Linked DNA regions of Homo sapiens: region 1 is linked to region 2. The links are contacts of gene promoters, found by promoter capture Hi-C in blood cells and fetal thymus (Javierre and others, 2016). All regions are on one chromosome and are shown on one strand. The core of a region is centred on a gene start or on the middle of the fragment in contact, and the rest is flanking DNA. Distances in the headings are between cores, read along the strand shown.

Region 1 (3,980 bases), core at 1,116-3,615, 160 kb before region 2:
ATCTTTCTGCCAATACCACATTATTTTGATTACTGTGGCTTTGTAGTAAGTTTGTTCTTTTTAAAGATTGTTTTGGCCACTCAGGGCCCCTAGCATTTCTATATAAATATTAGAATATGTTTTTCTATTTCTGCAAAAAAAAAAAGGGCAGTGAAATTTTAATAGGGATTGTATTAGATCTGTAGGTTAATTTTGGGAGTATTGCCATTGTATTAGTCTATTCTCACGCTGCTATAAAGAAATACACGAGACTGGGTAATTCATAAAGAAAAGAGGTTTAATCGGATTATGGTTCCACAAGCTGTACAGAAGACGTAGTGGCTTCTGCTTCTGGAGAGGCCTCAGGAGGCTTCCATTCATGGCGGAAGGCAAAGGGGGAGTGAGGAGCTTCACATAGCCAGAGCAGGAGAGAGGGGGTGGTGATGCACACTTCTAAACAACCGGATCTCCTGAGAACTCACTGTAGGGTACCAAGCGGGGATGGTGCTAACCCATTTATGAGAACTCTGCCCCTATGATCCAATCATTTCTTACCAGGCGCCACCTCCAACACTGAGGATTACAACTAGACATGAGATTTGGTTGGACACAGATCCAAACCATATGAGCTATATTAACAATATTACATCTTCCAATCCATGAACCATGCATGGACCATTCCATTTGTTTAGGTCTTCTTTAATTTCCTTCAATACTGTTCTGTGGTTTTCCATCTACCAGTCTCACACTTCCTTGGTTAAACATGTTTCTTTTATCCCTTCAGATGTTGTTGTAAATAGAATTGTTTCTTTAATTTCATTTTTGGATTGGGGCAGTCTTTTGAAATAAGGACATGAGTGGGAAAAAGCAGAGGATGGCTGTTGACGCCTAGAGAAAAAAGTATAAACACAGAGAAAAAAAAAACAGAAGCCAGAAATTACATAAAAAGGAAGGCACCGGGAAAGATGAGAAAGAACAGGGTTGTGGGAGTACTACACTTAGCAAATGCTTAAGCAAAGTCAAGCTTTCAAGACAAGATTCCTAAAGCAAGGCAGGAGTATCCTAGGACAGACAAAAGCTCACTCGACAAGGCAAAGAGACAAACACCAGAGTTTGGACCCCACCAACTCCCTTAGCCAGCTGGCAATATGGTTTCACCACTTCTTAGAAAAGAGGAATGGAGAGGTGTCCTCAAAAGCCACCACTAGGCTTTCAGAATGTTTTGTGTGTCTGTGTCTTGGCAGAATGAGCCAAACGTACTTTCTTCGTGCCCCATAAGATGAGACACACCCAGCAAAGGCTGTCCTCATACAGAACTACCTCCAGGTGTCTTTTATACTGCAAGACCTGCACCAAAGGGTTCTACCTATAGAAATCCTAGCACCTAGACATAGTCAACCAAGTACATGGCTCCCTCACCCTCCAACCAAAGATGCCATATTTCCATCAGAGTGGAACAAAATCCCACTGTGTTCCTAATGCCTCCTGCAATTTTGCATGTGGGAGACATGGCTGGTATGTGACATTCTCTTCTACAGATTGTAATGGATTGGGGAAGGAGGGGGAACTAGAGTTCAGGCCTATCTTTCTAGAGGACAAAATAAATATGCCTTGATAACTGCAATTATCTGAAAACTATTTCAAAGAAAACTCTTTGTCTCATTCTGGCATTTGCTCAAGGGTATGGCTTTCCATCAGTCTCTCTGTCTCCATGTCTCTTTTACATACATATGTATGTGTATATGCGTGCGTATGTGTACATACATCCATACATATAGACATATTCTCTCTCTCTCCACACACACTCACACACCCCTCCAACCTCTGTGGCTCTGAGCGTCATGTGTGTAAGACACTGACGCGAATGGTGAGTGCCTAGGCAGGGGTCAAACAAAGGCTACCTACCATGCCAGAGGATTGCCACAAACACCTCTTAAGCAAGCATATTCCTTGGCTCCTCCCAGACACACTGAATCTGAATCTCTAGGATTCTGATTTCGGAGCCCAGGAATCCTCCGGTGCAGGAGTTCCCAGGTGACTCTGATGCACCGGGAGGCTGGAGGCGCTCGGATCTAGAGAGGAGGCGGCACTTGTGCAGTGCAGTCGGGAAAGAGAGGAGGGGCTGGGCCGGTGCCTTTAGGCGGTCAGGTGTTAGGACCGGAGTACAAGCCGCCAGCCGCGCGGGAGCAGGCCCCGAGGCAGCCCAGCCGCGGGGCAGTAACCTTTAGCCACACTTGGCCTCCGGCCGCCGCCAGAGCCGCTCCGCCCCCGCCGCCTCGCCCCCACCGCCCCGCCCTCCTATTGGCCGCGTCCCCAGCCGGGCTCGCGGCCTCGGCCAATGGGGCCGGCGCGCGCCGGAAGCCGGAAGCGCGGCAGCGGCGGCGGCGCTCCCCCTCGGCAGCTGTTGTGGGGCACCATGCGAGGCTTCGGGCCAGGCTTGACGGCCAGGCGTCTCCTCCCGCTGCGGTTGCCCCCGCGGCCGCCCGGGCCCCGGCTGGCGAGCGGGCAGGCGGCCGGCGCCCTGGAGCGGGCCATGGACGAGCTGCTGCGCCGCGCGGTGCCGCCGACGCCGGCCTACGAGCTGCGCGAGAAGACACCGGCGCCCGCCGAGGGTCAGTGCGCGGACTTCGTGAGCTTCTACGGTGGGCTGGCCGAGACGGCCCAGCGGGCCGAACTGCTGGGCCGCCTGGCGCGGGGCTTCGGCGTGGACCACGGCCAGGTGGCGGAGCAGAGCGCCGGCGTGCTCCATCTGCGCCAGCAGCAGCGGGAGGCGGCGGTGCTGCTGCAGGCCGAGGACCGGCTGCGCTACGCGCTGGTGCCGCGCTATCGCGGCCTCTTCCACCACATCAGCAAGCTGGACGGCGGCGTGCGCTTCCTGGTGCAGCTGCGGGCCGACCTGCTGGAGGCGCAGGCCCTCAAGCTGGTGGAGGGGCCGGACGTCCGGGTAAGGGGCCGCCGTCGATCCCCCGGCAGCGCGGACTGGCCGCCCTCCTCGAGTAGTCCTCACTTGCCCCCTCCAAGTCCCACACACCCCGCCTTCCCTGCCCGATAGCACGCTCACTTCGCCCGCAGTTACCGCCTGCCAACTGTGTCCCCTTCCCACGCTGTCTGAGTCCTGGCCTCGTCAGAGCACACCCCCGCCTTCCTCCAGTCTGTCCTTGAAGTCCTCACTTGTATAGTGTTTACTAAATACTCAGCACTTGGTGGTCTTTAAGGTAGCTGTCACCTCTCGTACCTGATTAGTGTGTGCTCTACAGTCTTTTGAAATTATTGTAGCTGAGAAGTGTTTCATCTATATGGTATACCTGAACTAGAGCATCAGGCAGCCTTCTGAGACCCTGGATGGTGTTTCAGAAGTTCACTGGGCACCCGCTATGTGTGAGACATTGTCCTGAGAAGTCCTGTGAAATGCACAAAGGTAAATAGGACTCAAGGTCACCACCACCACCCAGGAGTCTCCATGGCTTCTGGCCTTGTCTGTGCTCCATGACTTTTGGGAGGGCATTTAACTCCCTGCGTTCAGTACTTAATGTGATGATTCTGAGTTGACTTGAGGTAATCAGGCATTAGCACAGTTCATTCATGTTAAATGCAGACACATACTTTGAGATTTAAATGATTATGACCCGAAAGAAGGCCTAGAGCAACATATACTCTTCTTTTATACTGTTAGTATTAAATACGGCGAAAAACTAACCTGCCCTTTTTTTATTTTTATTTTTGTTGCCCAGACTGGAGTACAGTGGTGTTATCACGGCTCACTGCAGCCTCGACTTCCCCAGGCTCAAGCAATCTTCCCACCTCAGCCTCCTGAGTAGCTGGGACTACAGGTGCAGGCCACCATGCCCGGCTAATTTTTTTTTTTTTTTTTTTTTTTTGTAGAGAGGGCGTTTCACCATGTGGCCCAGGCTTAACCTGCCCTTTTAATGAACGAAAAATGACGTAAATGTTTCAGGAAGTTTTGGACATTCAGAAGTTTGTTATGTGCAGTTGGTGTTAAA
Region 2 (3,725 bases), core at 558-3,057:
CACAAACTGGCCCCACTTGCTGGCAGGCACAGCCACTGGCTGAAGTAGCATCATGTTCAGCTGGATCCAATTCCCTCCCCAAGGCATCCTGCCCATCCACTCACCTTCCATCCTCTCTGGAGTGACTGAGCCTGCTCCACTGGGAGGGCGCTGGCGGTTCCCAGAGTGACTGAGGCTAGGCGGTGTCACCCCATACGATGTGTACTGGAGGAGGGCATCCAGAAGCCAAAAGCAGTCTGCGAAGTCAACAAGCCTGTTTAGGAATTCCTTTTTTTTTTTCCAGACAGAGTCACGCTCTTGTCACCCAGTGCAGTGGCGCAATCATAGCTCACTGCAGCCTTGAGCTCCTGGGCTCAAGTGATCCTCCTGCCTCAGCCTCCCAAGTAGCTGAGACTGAAGGCACATGACAGCATGCCCGGCTAATTTTTTATTTTTTGCAGAAATGGGTCTGGCTGGTCTCAAACTCCTGGGCTCAAGTGATCTTCTTGCCTCAGCCTCCCAAAGTGCTGGGATTATAGGTGTGAGCCACCACACGTGGCCCGGAATTTAGCTTTTAAGAAGAAATCTCTAAAGGAATTTTTTTTAAGTTAGTCCCCAAAAGTGGGGGAAATGGGAGTTCAGAAGTCACGAGTTTAGGTCAAAGTAAATCCAACATGTTCCAGATTCCCCTATTCTCATAAGACATGCATTCTCAGTGGCCCAGCCCAGCCAGATAAGCACACACAGCCATGACCTGACCAGGGCTCCACTCCCAGTGCCCCAGGGTTCCAGGTGGTCAGCACCACTGTCCACCAGGTTGCACCAACTGCCTGAGTGCCACACTCAGCTCCTCATGGATGGGGGCAGAATGGAGCTCATTCAGAGACAGTGAGACCATGTGACACCCACTGAGAAAAGAAGGGCCTGAGAGCGGGGTCTCAGGGGCAACAGGGAGAGGAGAACGGAGGGCCATGGCTCCTGCTGCATCCCAGAGGCTCTCCTGGGGAGAAGGAACTGTACTGACACCCCAGGGGGTGGAGGCAAGGCTCAACACCCATGCAGCATCTGTTCACTTGAGCTGGGCTTCGAGTCGGCAGGGCCCTGACCACTGGAAGTGTGACAGCAGAGAAAGGGCAATTTGTTTTCAGGGACACCTCAGAGTCGAGGCACTGGGCTAGCAACAGCTCCCGTTCACAAAGGATCCTTTCTGAGAGGGAAGGCGCAACCTGGTATTGAAACCTGGAGCTTCTGTTTCCATCTTGTTTCTCCTGTGTCTGCCCCTTCAAGTTCCATTAACATCAACCTGGACTAGACAAGATCCGTGTGAGAAAAATGCCATTAAGTACTTTCCTCTCATTAAAGGGCACTTCTGGTCAAGTGCTTAATGCCCCTGAAAGATGAAAAAAGCTGCCATTTTAAATGTAAGGCCTAGGACCACCCTCTCAGGCATTTACAATTTAATAAAGACTCTTACCAGGAGATCTCAGGTCTTAAAATCTCTGTGGAAATAAAACATTAACCTCCTTTAACTGTGACTTTAACCCTCACTTTTAATTTTAATTTTATTTTATTATTATTTTTTAAAACAGTGTCTTGCTCTGTCACCCAGGCTGGAGTGCAGTGGCACGATCTCGGCTCACTGCAACCTCTGCCTCCCGGGTTCAAGCAACTCTCCCACCTCAGCCTCCCAAGCAGCTGGGACTACAGGCACACGCCACCACGCCTGGCTAATTTTTGTATTTTTAGTAGAGACGCGGTTTCACTGTGTTGGCCAGGCTGGTCATGAACTCCTGACCTTGTGACCCACTCACCTCGGCCTACCAAAGTGCTGGGATCACAGGCGTGAGCCACCGCGCCCGGCCCATTTTTGATTTTTAAAAAGACCCATCCCAGTCTAGGGATTTACATAAATGCCAGGAATGTAGTCAACTTCAGCCTGAAACGGAGGGGCACACACACACCTCTCAGCGCACGCTGTTAGTGCCTCATTCTTGTCACTCACCACCCGCCCTGTGCCTCGAGTTCCCCAGTGGTCACAGCGCATTAGAAGGTTGCCTTTCAGTCCTGGTGTCATTATCATCTCACCAGGTAAAAACATGGAGCACTTTTACCATTCTTTCTCCCCTTTACAAAATGAGAAAAATAGTCTGTGCCCAACCTCAAGCCCCCAAATCCAACGGATGCATCGAGAGACTGACATAAAGACGCGGAGGGAAGAGGACTGGCATGCCTATTTGCCTCCCCTTCACGCCTCGAGATAACAAACGCTCTTCACTGATAAAGGCTAAGAAAAGCCCGAATTCCAGGTCTGGAAGGACAGCCAAGAGCCAGCCCTCCAGTAAAAGAGTGAGTCAGACCAGAGAAGGGCGCCCCCTCGTGGCAGTGCCCACAAAGTCCAGGCAGCACGGCGTAGGAAGCCTGGGAGGGGCAGGCCCCAAGGAAGTCAGGGAAGGGACTCTCCACCACAACGCGGGAGTCCCGCCTCCGCTGGCCTCAGGAAGGTGAAGATGGAGAAGAGGCATCATGGCCCCAACAAGTAGCTTTGTTTTGCTTATTAAATGTGTGCACACTCAGACACCTATCAAAATATTCCAAGCAATCAAAGTGACTGCAACATCTCCAGCTGAGCCTGGCTCAAGTGAACAGATGTCGGCTGATCTGCCAGCATCTCACGGGCGCCTTTCCAGAGACAAAGGGAAGAAAGGATCTGAGTGCCGAAGTCACAAAGTCCATCTGCGTTTTTCCTACCCTTCTGTCGGTGACTGTCATCCAAGCAATTGGAGTCCCCATACAGTACAATCCGGCCTCCACCCTCAGCTGGAATCTGATAAAGTCCCAAAATGGGGACGTTTTCAACAACTGCTGTTTCCTGCTTTAAAACCTCCAATCCTGAAACAACACAACAAAAAACAACAGCCATGAGAGTTTCCACTGAGCAGTGAGTTATTTCCTGATATTTCATCCACGTGACAAATAAACCACATTTACAAAATCTAATATTCAATTAAAACATTGCAAATTTTTAGAATAGAAAAGCCTTAAGAATAAGCCTTTTAGAATAGAAATGTCTTAAGTGCCATTGATTTGTTTTAGCAAAATTCACTTTGTGTGTATTTCCGTATCTATCCACTTTCATTTTTACTTGCCATGGCAGTACATAATATTTACAATTGCAAAGGTGCTGCCTCTATCTTAAAAAAAAAACCTAAATTGTGTCCCCTCTTATTATCCTGAAAGGCCTATGTTTTCAGACACCTACACAAAGGGCAGCCAGCAGATCTTGCTAAACACACAGGTTTCTCTATGAATACAGTCATATATACTAATACCCAGGTTTCACGTTTTATTATGAAAAGCTAGGACAAATGTAACTAATTTTTAAAAGTATGTCCACATATTTATATTTAGGTTTAAGACATCGGTTACATTAATTTCACAAAGACACATGTTCCAATAGCACAGCCTCCTATCTTTGCCCAGATGACATAATTTAAAATTTGTAATGAATCAAGAAGTCAAAAATGTATAAATGCCACAGGCAGCATCATCAGTGGCACCACCAGATAATCTAGGAGTCTCTGCCCCTAATTCAATTGCTTTCCTCAGCACTAGAACATGATGTACGTCTTCAGCAGAATCTAGTATTGTCCGTGTTGATAACATCTGAAATGTCTGTAGCTCTATAAACGTGACATTCCCTGCTCTCTGTGCAGGAATCCTACTAGGAGCTGAGTAGAAGAAAAAAT

What was found. Contacts are between HindIII fragments. The CHiCAGO score rates a contact against its expected background, and 5 or more counts as called.
Region 1: a contact is called between the fragment with the promoter of MLYCD here and a fragment that was not itself captured in region 2, in 1 of 17 cell types (neutrophils). The highest score is 5.9, in neutrophils.

What each region holds. Positions count from the first base shown.
Region 1 is chr16:83,896,750-83,900,729 of GRCh38, forward strand. MLYCD (malonyl-CoA decarboxylase) reads left to right here and starts at 2,366. Exons shown (of 5, transcript NM_012213.3): 1 at 2,366-2,923. The coding sequence starts at 2,396. RefSeq lists silencers at 2,136-2,565, 2,866-3,035. The HindIII fragment of the contact is 8,175 bases long and covers 1,002-3,980 here.
Region 2 is chr16:84,060,578-84,064,302 of GRCh38, forward strand. It overlaps MBTPS1 (membrane bound transcription factor peptidase, site 1), which reads right to left. Exons shown (of 23, transcript NM_003791.4): 19 at 2,728-2,868; 20 at 105-236. Among named protein-coding and RNA genes, the nearest start is that of SLC38A8, 20 kb to the left of the region's middle. The HindIII fragment of the contact is 6,401 bases long and covers 1-3,725 here.